Regions from separate parts of the Homo sapiens genome. Here region 2 is linked to region 1. Evidence: promoter capture Hi-C in human tissues and cell types (Jung and others, 2019). All regions are on one chromosome and are shown on one strand. The core of a region is centred on a gene start or on the middle of the fragment in contact, and the rest is flanking DNA. Distances in the headings are between cores, read along the strand shown. Region 1 holds the start of ADAMTS5 (ADAM metallopeptidase with thrombospondin type 1 motif 5). Region 2 overlaps LOC102724355 (a long non-coding RNA gene).

What was found. Contacts are between HindIII fragments. The study calls those that stand out against the background at their distance.
Region 2: a contact is called between a fragment that was not itself captured here and the fragment with the promoter of ADAMTS5 in region 1, in 6 of the 25 tissues and cell types used here (H1 embryonic stem cells, dorsolateral prefrontal cortex, heart right ventricle and 3 more).

What each region holds. Positions count from the first base shown.
Region 1 is chr21:26,964,408-26,971,597 of GRCh38, reverse strand. ADAMTS5 (ADAM metallopeptidase with thrombospondin type 1 motif 5) reads left to right here and starts at 4,510. Exons shown (of 8, transcript NM_007038.5): 1 at 4,510-6,310. The coding sequence starts at 5,207. LOC124905050 reads left to right here. Exons shown (of 3, transcript XM_047441063.1): 2 at 3,628-4,154; 3 at 4,514-4,942. The coding sequence ends at 4,942. The HindIII fragment of the contact is 10,779 bases long and covers 1-7,190 here.
Region 2 is chr21:27,275,243-27,281,816 of GRCh38, reverse strand. All of the region lies in intron 1 of LOC102724355 (a long non-coding RNA gene), which reads left to right. Among named protein-coding and RNA genes, the nearest start is that of ADAMTS5, 310 kb to the right of the region's middle. The HindIII fragment of the contact is 8,219 bases long and covers 1,127-6,574 here.

The DNA.
Region 1 (7,190 bases), core at 3,261-5,760:
ATTCCTGATTTTCCATGTGTTTCTAGTAAGGTTTGATTTTTGATGATTTTTGGAAAATAAGGAAAAATAGAACTCAAGTAACTCATAAAAGCAAGTAATATGTGCATAATTGTGTGAGAAAAGCTAAAACAACATTTCACAGCTGGTCAGCATAAAAAATGACTTGTCGGTTTTACTTTACAGATAACACCTGTATGTCTTAAATAATACATATGTACATTATTCATTTGAAGACTTCTATATAGTATAAAATTACTGTGTATAAAAAATGAAAATCTGGCTTTCTAGAAATATATTTTCTATAATATTAAGTAAAACAGATTCTAAAGCATATGTTATCCATCACAATAGATAGATTGTTTTGTAATATGTCCTAATCAGATAGCAGAGAAGATGGTTTCGAGTTTTATCAGGCATTCAGTAAGGTTTCCCGAGGGGCAAAATAAAAGAATCTCTACAATGCAGGTCTCTAGAAAGTTTTCTTCGTAAAGGCAGAGGATGGTTGGTTTAATCCCCTCTTCTATTATCTGAGCTCTAATTAGGATTTCTATCAAGCCATCAGTGCAGCCTAGAGGGAAACATGAGTTCAAGTGAGTACGTGTGTGGCACATGCATGCTGACATGTGCTGTGTGTACTAATGCATATGAGATTGGGTACACATGCATTAGTGCATCAGGGTCCATGTTCTGCCATTGTAAATATCAGAGGGGATGGACGGGGGGAAAAAGAGCTGGGGAAGGAGGGAAGAAGGACTATTTAAGTGTAGTTTCACCCTCTAAAAATGAAGAGTTCATATCAAAGCTAGAATCACTCCCAAAGTGTGACCTTTGGTTTTGAAGCAAAGCCCTCTAAAAACGAGAATTTGCAAAGCGAGTGTCACAAAAGGGAAAAGCTCACCCAGTGTCTTTAAGGCATTCATTCATGGTCCCACGCAGTAGTGGAGCTTAGTAGTGGAGATCTTACCCATAGAATCCACACACCCTGCTACCACCAAGGGTGCCGATACTAAAAGGGTTTCCAATTCAGCAGGCCTAGGGTAGGGATCTTGATGTGGGAAAGAAAAACGCAGAGTTGAAAGACTGTAATTCTTCTACATGGGAGGTAAGGAGCAGGTGTTTGGCCGGAAGGGAATATTTTACTGTCAGATATTTCCTCACTCTTACCATTAAAATCATAGTTTGGGGTGGGGGGTAGGAAATGACACTTTAGCAAATGGAAATTTGAGAAAATGCTACTTAAAAGAGTATACAAATTATGGAGTGGAGCTATATTGGAAATACAGGGCTCAGAGCACCTGCAGGAGTAATTCTCTTGCTTTCTCCCCCTCTATATTTGTATTTTCCAGTTTGTATTCTGTGCATCTATTATACAAACGGCTCCATCTCTAAACTGTGAGTTTCCTCCAGACATTACTCATGACTTGTTCATCTTCTCATGCCTCCAGAGAGCCTCATAAAGCACTTTGCAGTAGGACCTTGATAGATATTTGTTAAACTGGATACATTGTAAGAAGTGTTGTAGAATGAGCCCAAATTAGGAGCTGGGAGATTTAGGTTTCAGGACATTCGGCCACTAGTGGACTTTTTTATCCACAGGCAAGCCATTTTGGCCTCTGGGTCTCAGCTTTTCACAGTTAGATGGAGAAAGTTGCCCTACCTGATCTCCAAGATAAATTATAACATTCTGGAGTAGTAAGTCCTTCTTCCTTTTAGGAAATGTAAAATCATCTATCATGGTATTTGTGATCATATACTCTATAAATTCAGTGGAAATTTCTCATTAAATGTGCACAAATAAAACTGTTACTTTGAATGAGTAGCAGTTATTCTGCTTAAACATGATTGCTAATATATTTTTCCTTTCTACTGTAAAAATAAAAAGTTCAGCTACTTTTATCCAGTGCAAATTACTTCCTTAGAGTGACAGATAGTAATTTTTTCCACAACGTAGCAGCTCATCCTAATCCACTAGTGTAATGTTTTAAAAATACTACCAAATGAAGTTTCCAAAGTGTCCAAGTTACTTTCTAAAAAAAAAATTATATCGAAGTAGAAATTTTCTGAGATGTAAGAATTTATTCATTGTATTCATAAGATTTAGTATTTATTTCCTTGTGAATATATACCTCTAGTAAATATTCTGTGCTTGATATTCATGTTTGGAACTTTATCTGTGTCTATCCTGTTCTCCCCATGTATTTTTAAATATTTGAATAAACTGAGTACAAATGTCACTATATAATTAAACTTAAAGGCATAATATTCAGATTCAGGATTCAGCACGGTGTTTGTGAAAGAGGAGAAAAGCTTCATTAAGAAGAAAATTCAAGCCGTCACTGTGTCTCATCAGGTGGGAGAATCCCTGGAGGTTATGAGTTCAAGACCATCAAAGAAAAGAGAATCTGTTGGAATTTCCTGAAATCCTAAATAACAAAATCTATCTGTGAATGAAAATAATTGTAATTAACAAATTTTAACCACTGTCACCTAAAATGCCTATTAAAATGATTCTTTGGCATGAACAATGACAAAATTGTTAAATTTATTGAATCAAGGTTGTATTAGAAATGGTGTTTAGTGCCAAATATTGGACTCCTTTTCACTGTAACTGGTTAAAAAGATAAAAGTTTGCTATTTGTAGGTGCAAAGCAAGGACCACAAAAGAGAACGGCTAATGCAAGGCTCAAAGGCCTTGGTGGGATAGAGAAAATGGCTGGAACCTCCTATTCTGACCCATCCAGCTGTTAGCATTGGCCTGGGTCAACTGGCCACTGAGAGGCTGAGGCATTGTGGAATTATAAAGCAATGGCCTTCAGCAATAGTAACTTCCTCCCTGGTCCTGATGTATTTCAGAATCTATCAGGGGCTGTTGGGTGTCCCTAAGGCCCCAGTGATTTCTTTATTTATAAGTTAAAACAAGATGATACATCTGCCCCTCACAAGACTCCAGAGGGTGTTCCCAGGCACACGGCAATGGGTATTGTTGCCGGGCAATTCTGAAATTCCTTCCAGAGGATTATTGCCACTCTAAGAACCTCCATCAAGCTCTGGACCCTCATGGTTCCCTCCCAGAGAAAGCGATCAGCTTGGGGCCCCATTAAGGCACCCGCCCTGCTATCCCCAGCGTAGCCAAAGTTAAACGTAGAAAAAGATGGAAATGTACAAATTACACCACATTCATTTTTCACTGGTGCATTAGTTAATTAGCCTGAAGAATAATTTGGGCATGGAGGGAGCTCTTACCCCTACAGTAGAAGGTAGACCTTCTAACCATAAGTCGTCGGGTTTTCCTTCTCCCTTCTTAGAATGATAATTAGAGGAAACAAAGAGGTCAGAGGAAACGAGTAGCAGTGATAATGTCACCCGCGTACTAATAAGCACCAATCTTCCTTCCGCCAAAAGTATTCTTTTTCTTCTAAAAGGAATTTCTGAGAATGAAGGTAGGTCAAGGCCTATGGCGATAAGTGGTTGCTTTAGAAGAGACAAAAACAGATATAGGAATTTATTATTAAAGTATCATTTAAGCAAAAAATAAAAGTATGAGCGCAAAATTTTAAAATCTTTCAGGGAAAAAAAATGAGCGGAATTCCCTCTAAGAGTTAACTCTTTCTCGCTCTGCCTTTTTAGAGCAAAGGAAGTTCCAGTGGGCTGGGAGTAAGGGACAGATTGTGGACCCTGACGAAAGGCGTGCTGGAGAAAGCTGGGAGCCCGCCGTTCGCACACAAAGCTGCGGAGTTCCCAAGCGGCGGGCGTTCTCGCCCCGGGGTACCGCAGCGCGCCAGGAAGCGCCCTGGGCTCTCTGGCTGTCCAGCCGCTCTGCTGGTGGCCGGGAGAAGTTAGTCACCCGGAGCCCGAATCCGGCGAGCGTCAAAGCATCAAGAGGCTGGAGAATGGGGAGGGAGGAAACCGGGTGCCGGGACGGAGGGGAGGAAGCGAAGGGAACGCGGTGGTTAGGGGACGCACGGGAAGCTGAAAAGCTCTGGCTGGTGGATGGAGTTGCACGGTCTGCGAGGCCAGAGCGCACGGGTGTGCAAAGGGGAAAAACTTGCGGCAGGAACTTCCCACCGAGGGCGAGAAAAGCAGGCAAGAAGGAGGCAGGGAGAGACTTGAAACGTCTCAATAACTTTAACCAAAACACCCGTTCAGGAGATGAGGTAAGCCAAGGTTAGCCAACCCCAATTGGTTGTGAAATATCAGACAGACCCGGAGCCGCTGTGGCTTTAAAAGTGGCCAAGGAAATCTGTTTTTCTTGCCCCATTACTTTTTATTTTCCCCTCTCCCCTCCTACCACCTCGCCGGGTCCCAGTCCCTTCCTCCTACTTCGTCTCCCTTTCCTCGATCACCCTCCTCTTTTGCCCTCCCCCATCTGATTAGGCGCGGACTGGGAAGGGTGGGAGTGGTGGGGGAAGCTCTCCCTTTAAGAGGCAGCGTGCAGTGACGAACTGTTGAAATTGCCATTGCAGGATGGCATGCCGCTATAAATTCATTGTTCCACCTCCTCGCATCTTCACAGCGCTCGCGCTGCTCTCGGCGCTCGCAGCTGCCGACTGGGGATGACGGCGGGCAGGAGGAGACCGCAGCCGAAGGGACACAGACACGCCGCTTCACCAGCTCGCCTCAGGCTGCCCCCCTGCATTTTTGTTTTAATTTTTACGGCTTTTTCCCCTCTCTTTCTTCCCTTCCTCCTGGTCCCAGCAGAGCCAAGGAAACCCACAAAATAAGAAAGGAAGTGGGCCCCGGAGCTTGGAACCTCCACAGCCGGCTTGTCCAGCGCAGCGCGGGGGCGGGAGGCTGCGCGCACCAGTTGCCAGCCCGGTGCGCGGTACCTTTCCTTACTTTTCTTGAAACAGCGATCGTGCCTGCATTTGGTGGTTTTTTGGTTTTTGTTTTTTTCCTTTTCCCGTATTTGCTGAATCTCCACTATCCGACTTTTTTTTTTTAATCTTTTCTTTCCCCCCCCCCCCACCCCACCTCTTTCTGGAGCACGAATCCAAACATTTTCCCAAGCAACAAAGAAAAGTTCGCACGCTGGCACCGCAGCCCGGACAGGCTGGCGCTGCTGCCGGGCCCCCCTCCCTCCGACACTTGACTCAATCCTGCAAGCAAGTGTGTGTGTGTCCCCATCCCCCGCCCCGTTAACTTCATAGCAAATAACAAATACCCATAAAGTCCCAGTCGCGCAGCCCCTCCCCGCGGGCAGCGCACTATGCTGCTCGGGTGGGCGTCCCTGCTGCTGTGCGCGTTCCGCCTGCCCCTGGCCGCGGTCGGCCCCGCCGCGACACCTGCCCAGGATAAAGCCGGGCAGCCTCCGACTGCTGCAGCAGCCGCCCAGCCCCGCCGGCGGCAGGGGGAGGAGGTGCAGGAGCGAGCCGAGCCTCCCGGCCACCCGCACCCCCTGGCGCAGCGGCGCAGGAGCAAGGGGCTGGTGCAGAACATCGACCAACTCTACTCCGGCGGCGGCAAGGTGGGCTACCTCGTCTACGCGGGCGGCCGGAGGTTCCTCTTGGACCTGGAGCGAGATGGTTCGGTGGGCATTGCTGGCTTCGTGCCCGCAGGAGGCGGGACGAGTGCGCCCTGGCGCCACCGGAGCCACTGCTTCTATCGGGGCACAGTGGACGGTAGTCCCCGCTCTCTGGCTGTCTTTGACCTCTGTGGGGGTCTCGACGGCTTCTTCGCGGTCAAGCACGCGCGCTACACCCTAAAGCCACTGCTGCGCGGACCCTGGGCGGAGGAAGAAAAGGGGCGCGTGTACGGGGATGGGTCCGCACGGATCCTGCACGTCTACACCCGCGAGGGCTTCAGCTTCGAGGCCCTGCCGCCGCGCGCCAGCTGCGAAACCCCCGCGTCCACACCGGAGGCCCACGAGCATGCTCCGGCGCACAGCAACCCGAGCGGACGCGCAGCACTGGCCTCGCAGCTCTTGGACCAGTCCGCTCTCTCGCCCGCTGGGGGCTCAGGACCGCAGACGTGGTGGCGGCGGCGGCGCCGCTCCATCTCCCGGGCCCGCCAGGTGGAGCTGCTTCTGGTGGCTGACGCGTCCATGGCGCGGTTGTATGGCCGGGGCCTGCAGCATTACCTGCTGACCCTGGCCTCCATCGCCAATAGGCTGTACAGCCATGCTAGCATCGAGAACCACATCCGCCTGGCCGTGGTGAAGGTGGTGGTGCTAGGCGACAAGGACAAGAGCCTGGAAGTGAGCAAGAACGCTGCCACCACACTCAAGAACTTTTGCAAGTGGCAGCACCAACACAACCAGCTGGGAGATGACCATGAGGAGCACTACGATGCAGCTATCCTGTTTACTCGGGAGGTAGGTCCAGCCGGGATGCGGGGGTCCCAGCGCTGATATCAGGAGGTAGGTAGAAGGGAATCTTGCTGGTGGCTTTGCTTCTCCCTCAAACCTCCTGCAGCTGTGGATGTGTTTAACTGCTTCTTGCAGGAAATCCAACCAGCCTTCAACTCTGCTCCTGTATTCACGTTAGCCCCGCAGAAATTTTTGCCTTAAATGCCAAGACTTGCTTAGGTGATGATGAAGACCCAGTAGTGCTGCATGTCATCTAGTCTGAGGTGTTGTGGCATAGGAACGTAAACATAAGAAGGCACAAGGATGCTTGGGGAAATGATACAGTTAAATGGGGAAAAGGAAGGAAAACAAAGTTGCCTTTGGGATCATGGGTCTTCTTCTTTCCAGTGAAAATAAAATATAACCTTGTCCCACCTAATGGAAAGGGCTGGATGGTTCACTCACGGTACTCACTGTTATCCGATGACCTTCTTTTGTAAGTGTCCACACCTTTTTACTAGAATCCCTTCTGTTACACAGAGGATGAGAAAACTTTCTCAAGGACTCTTTTTCCAGGTTGGATTCCTAATGGAGTTCTTACATGTCCACCTTGGAATCTCAGTTCCTGGGAAGGAAGGAATGTGGGCGGGCCAGCAGGGTACAGAGACCCAATCAGATGAGAGGACAAACTTGTGAGGTTCCTTAACAACTCCTTTGCTTAGTCGACCAGTGCGTCGCAAGCACTGCCCAGGCCAACTCCGCCGCCTAGGGAGGGTCACATCCCGTTTGCGTGTTTGGGTTTTGGATGAATATGTTTCCGAAGCCCCAGTGCAGAAGATCTGGGCGAAGAGTCAAGACAGAAGGAAGAAATGTTTTCCCAGCATTTCCCCCTTTTAAGAAAGATGGT
Region 2 (6,574 bases), core at 3,987-6,486, 310 kb before region 1:
TATATACATATATAACTATGTGTGTGTATGTAATATCTAATTACGATAAGTATTTCAGAAAAATTTGCATCTCAGCTTTGTGAATTTTTACCTTTGTAAACTTGACCAAATGACCTTCTATTTTATCTCTGAGCATGTTTTTCATCCATAAAAAGGAGAACTAAAAATCGTCAAGATTAAATAAGATAATGTTTGAGATACAATGGCTATGTGGTGAAGAGATTAGGATGTGTGGGGTATAGATTAGGCAAGATAGGAATTGGTGCTCTTGCATAAAGCTGAAACTCTTGGAGAGCCAATCATTAGTAATGTCATAAATTAGAAAAAAATTCCCATATGAAAAATGTCAGAGATAAAAATTTTTTCGATTCCAAGGAATATAAATATGTCTGCCACAATAATTTGTAAACAGAACCTGTCCTCTGAGAAGGCTGGAATTTCATTTTAAAGTAACTAAATTGTTTGGGATACTTTTAGCCAACTATTAACTTAAGTGGGTCCTAAATTGTTAAAACCCTGGTTTGCCTGTCAAAAACTAATGGAATCTCTATTAGAAAGATGAACCCTCAGACTCGGTTTCACATGATGTCCAGTGGCAAAGTCCAGCAAAACATAAACTAGCAATCTATGTTCCCCAACTAACAAGAGCTATGTGTCTAGAAGTACGAATTTACAAAAACCATAAACGGCACAATTAGACCAGTATTAACTTAAGAGGTTGAAACGGTCAGACTTGGAATATGAAAAAAGAATGTATAATTTTGAAAGAACAAAAGTGCATTGAAAATACAAGCACAGAACATGAAACAATAAAAGATAGACCAAAAAATTGCAGAAATGAAACATGTAATTATTTATATTTTAAAAGTTAAATGGATAGATTTAAAAAACAAATAGATGATCACATCTGAAGATATCAAATAAACTGGAAGACAGATTGAGGCCTAAAGCCTGCCTGAAAGAAACAGAGACACCAATAAATGAAAAATATGAAGGAGAGTTAAAGAGAAATGGTGAGTATAATAAAAAGTCAAAAAGATCTAATTGGATTTCTACCAAGATAAGACAGAGAGAGTAGAGAAGATAAATTAATAGCTAGAAATACTACTGTTTTCCAAAACAGATGAAAAAATGTTCCAGGATATTTAGATCAATAAGCATAAAACATTTCCATTAGGATAAAAATGTTATTTATAGTATACATTACTAAATCTACCAAAACCAAATAAAAACAGAAGACTTTTTAAAGAAAACGGTATTAATAGCTCTTTTACAAATTGTCTATTAGGTTGGCCTATGAAGGTCTCAATGGCCACAGTGCAAACAGAAAATAATTGAAAGATATTTCAAAGTTTTGAGAGAAAGTAGATACCAACCTGGAATTAAGTTCCCAAATCAACAGTAATTCAATAATGAAAGTCAAAAAATGCTCCAAATGTTTCTAGTAACACATATGTTCACTTTTTAAAAAATTTATATGTACAGGCCGGGTGCGGCGGCTCGCCCCTGTAATCCCAGCACTTTGGGGGGCCGAGGCGGGTGGATCACAAGGTCAGCAGATCGGGACCATCCTGGCTAACATGATGAAACCCCGTCTCTACTAAAAATACAAAAACAAAATTAGCCGAGTGCGGTGGAGGGCGCCTGTAGTCCAAGCTACTCAGGAGGCTGAGGCGGGAGAATGGCGTGAACCTGGGAGGTGGAGCTTGCAGTGAGCTGAGATCGCGCCACTGCACTCGAGCCTGGGCGACAGAGCAAGACTCTGTCTGAAATAATATAATAATAATAATAATAATAATAATAATAATAATAATAATAAAATAAAAATTAAAAAATGTACAAATCTGTATATATTTCACTTCGATAATCAAAGAAAGGAGGTCAAATGAGGGCAATTTTAACAATCTTTATTTCTAACTTTCTATTTAAACAACTTCAATATGAGCATCAACACCAAAAATTAAACACTGACAACAATATAATGAAGTAATCTACAGACCTTATGCAAATTTCATTTATTGTCCTAATAATAGTGTTCCTTTTTCTGGTCCAGGATTCAATCCAGGATCACACATTTCATTCAGTTATGGGATTTCCTTCGTCTCCTTTATTCTAGGACAAGTACACCATCGTTCTTTATCCTCATGACACTTCTTTTTTACTTAACCAAGTGATAAATTTAACATTGCAAGTAATGAGACACCCAAATAGTATGTGCCACCTGAAATGCTGCCTTGTGAAGGGCATGAATCACTTTTGTGGTGTTCTTGACATAAATTCATAATCTTATTAAATTATCAAGAAATATCAAAGCCAAATAAATAAGGATTTTGTAAAACAGCAAATTATTACTCTTCAAATGATTAAATGATCACAGAAGGAAGACTGAGAGACTAGAAGAAATGATGGGCAAAGAAATTGATATACATATAAATAAATCTAAATTAATTACTAGATAGAAGGATTCATTGTACAAAAAGGAATAATTAAATTATATAAATAATGTATTCCCCCAATATGTGCTTGGGGATTGTTCTTAAAGAAGTTAGAAAAATATTAGATTTACTTTAGATTCCTTAAGAAAGAATGTTAAAATGTCAGTAAACAGTTGAACACAGAGGTGCTGTAGTCTAAATGTTTGTGTCTCCCCTAAATGTATATGTTAAAATATGAACCCCAAGATGATAATATTAGGAAGTGGGGACTTTTGGGAGGTGATCAGACCATGAAAGTGGAGGCTTCATGATGCGATTAGTGCCCTTATAAATGGGGCCCAAGGGAGATCCTTGGCGCTTCCACCATGTGAGGACATAGTGAGAAGGCACCGTCTATGAACCAGGAAATGGGCCCACACCAGATACAGAGTCAGCTAGCATCTTAATCTTGGACTTCCTAGCCTCCAGAACTGGAAGAAATAAGCTCTGTTTCTCACAAGTTGCCCAGTTTATGGTATGTTCTTATACCAGCTCAAAGTAATTAAGAAAAGGAGAAAAAACATGTTTTACTTGCAAAGAAAACAGGAAAAGAGGAACAATTAAGTCAGGCCAAAAGACAAATAAGTAGGAAGAACAAAATATGTAGAGACAAAAACAAATATATTTTTGATTGAAATAAAATAAGATAAGCTCACTGGTTATACAAACAAATATAATTTAGTTGGATTAAAAAATGACTCTAGGCCAGGCGCGGTGGCTTACACCTGTAATCTCAGCACTTTGGGAGGCTGAAGTGGGCGGGATCATTTGAGGTCAGGAGATCGAGACCAGCCTGACCAACATGATGAAACCCTGTCTCTACTAAAAATACAAAAAAATTTAGCTGGGCATGGTGGTGTGTGCCTGTAATCCCAGCTTACTTGGGAGGCTGAGGCAGGAGAATCACTTGAGCCCAGGAGGTGGAGGTTGCAGTGAGCTGAGATTGTGCCATTGCACTTCAGCCTGGGTGACAGGGCAAGACTGTCTCAAAAAAAAAAAAAGACTCTATATATTAATAAATGTTATTTATAAGGAAGACCTCAAGTGAATAGTAACTGAAAGAAAATATTCAAACTATATTGATGTAATAAAACAGATTTTATACTAAAAATAATTATTAAGGATATACTGGATCCATAATAATAATAAAATTGTCATTTCTTTATTAGTTGTAGGGTAAAAATGATATATAATTCTTGAAAGACACTTTTAAAGACTTGCAGAAATTGAGAAAGCAGCCATTTCTCAATTTTCAACAAGGTCACTTCTCCATGAATGTATCTAAGTCTTTGTTACTTGACTGGATGGGCAAACGTTCAAAAAATTGGCAAGATAATTTCATAAGACAAAGAGAAGTGTGAGGAGGAGGGAAGGAAAGTGGAAGGAGCAAGGAGGAGCCAAAAAAGAGAAGGAATTACCCTGTTCTAAAAGAAATTTTATTTAAAGGTAAAACAATGAACATTTAAATAGTAATCCACAGGCGACAAATCTAAGGCCACACAGTGAAGAGCTGAAATACAGAGTGCTGAATCAGTTGGAAACTCAACATGTGACAGAGGCACCAGGTCAGTAGAAAAGGGCACAGTAGCCATTAAATGGAGCTGGGACAGTTATTCCTGTGATAAATTAAGTTAGATCCATACCTACAGGATACACACACACACACACACACACACACACACAAATGAATTCAAGGTACGTTGGACCTAAAAGTGAATACTGAAAATGTAAAAATTTTTAAATGTGTCTGAATGTCTCTGTTGCCTCAGGGAAAAGAAATGTTTATTAAACAAGATATAAATAGCTAAAACAGGAAAGATAAGGATAAAAAGTAGATACTTTTAAAATTTCTTCTCATTAAAACAGGCAGTATGTATGTGAAAATAAAAAACCAAGCTCTGGGAAAAATAACATAATCTGCAAGAATTCTTATCCAAAGTATGTAAATAACTCCTATGAATCAACAAGATAAAAAGTCAGCTATCCAAGCAGAGAGGTCAAGGTTTATGTACAGGCAATTCCTAGGGAAGACATCCAAATGGTGGGTGTGTTTCTGCATGTTTATCTGAAAGTGTGCTAACTTCAGCAGTAATAAGAGACATGTAACTAAAAACCATAAGAAAAAAATAATCATTTCATACCTCCATAAACTTGGCCCAATTAAAATTCTCTCTCTACTTCTCCCCTCTCCCTCCCTCCCTCTCTCTCTCTCTCCATAAAAATGGCCAAATTAAAACTCTCTCTCTCTACTTCTCCCCCCTCCCTCTCTCTCTCTGTCTCTCTCGCTCGCTCGCTCGCTCCCATGCGCTCACACACACACTACACCGGCACATGCACTACTATACACTACTGTAAATGTGGCTGATTGCAAAGAGTAACAGAATATCTTATGCATGCTTGAGAGCAACAATTGGTTCAACCCTGTTTGAGAGCAAGTTGGTGAATCAAATAAAATTGTAAATGTGCATACCCTATACAATTCTGTGCCCTTCCCCCCTCCCGGCCTCTCTCTCTTTCTCACTCAGAGCAAAATGTCCATTAAAAGATAATGAACAAATCAATTGTAGAAGAATATGTTGAGGCCATCAATGGTTTCAGTCATATTTTCTTTCTTGAGGAGGATCCTGAATGTATGATGTTCACTCTAGGTTCTTTATTCATTTTGGAATACTGAAATATTTGATAATCATTCAAAAAATAAAAACAAGGTGTTACTATAAGGTGAAAGGAGCAGAAATTCTGATTTGAACTACTTTATTTTATTTATAGCTTATATGAGCCTGAGAAAAATCCCTTAACATTAGTAAACTTGTCTTTTCCCACTGGTACACATTAATAATAATCACATCTCTTCTGCTACTCACAAAATTTATAGGAAACTCAATGAAATAATGCATATAAAAGTGCTTTGTAAGTCAAATAATCAAACAAATATTAGCTTTCTGATAAACATGTTGTTACTATTATAATCATGTTGTTACTATTATAATTACAATAAAAATAATTATCACCTGAGTAATTTACATGATCTGGTATCTTTGAAAATGATAATTTGAACCAAATGAGCTCTAATGAGCCTCTGCACCTAACATTCTGAAATTGATCTGTGACTAAAATCAAACATTGCAAAAGAGAAGGATGATGCTTATTGGTTTGTGCTATACAATAAGTGACAATCATCATAGTTATGATTCATGAAAATTGAAACAAGTAAAAGTAACACATTTAATATTATATAGGGCTAAAAATATTCATTTCAATACCTATTGTTATGAGTTGAAATTACTTCATACTGAAAAATAAACTGAAAAGTTGGATTGAATTGGCCAAGTGCCTCTAAGTGAATTTGAGAGTTAATTAAGTATAATACTGAGTGACATGTAAGAAGATCAACACATTTTAACAGAAGTGCTTTTTCAGTGATGCCACAACTTCTGGGAATATTAACACACTGGGTGAGACAATATTCTGTATCCCAGAGTTAACAACTAAAAAGTTAACTATATTTTTCCATCACATTCAGATAGGGAGAATACAAGCACAGAGAGCAAGCCTTTGGACCTACTCATTAGAAAAAATGTGTTCCTTCAGTGGGTTCTGGAGCCTAAATAGAAAACCAAAGGGAAACATGGTTTTTCTGAGCAGTCCACTCCAGATACACACTCATGAAATCTTGCTTTGCAAAACTTGGTCAAACTTGACAAACTCTGGTTCTATTCATTAATACAAGATAATCACAAAACACAAATATAACAAACAAGGAATTATAGACAAAATGCTTAACAGTAAGGGCTGTGAAATAAACCTAAATCTAAATGCTGTCTCCACCACTTCCTGCATGACTTGTTTCTTCATCTGAAAAAAATGACAGTTACAACAGTAAAAAAACCTCATATGCAGGCATTCGTTTCTGCAGAATTGAATCAGTGACTAATATGGTTATGTAATTCCTGGCACATAGTATCTCTTCAAACTCTCAGTGATGGTTAGCTGCTATAACCATATGTTTGGGGGAAATCATGAGGGTAATTGAAAATTTTGCAATTAATAACCCTCAAAATATAGAATTATTTATTATCTATTTATGTAACTTAAATTTA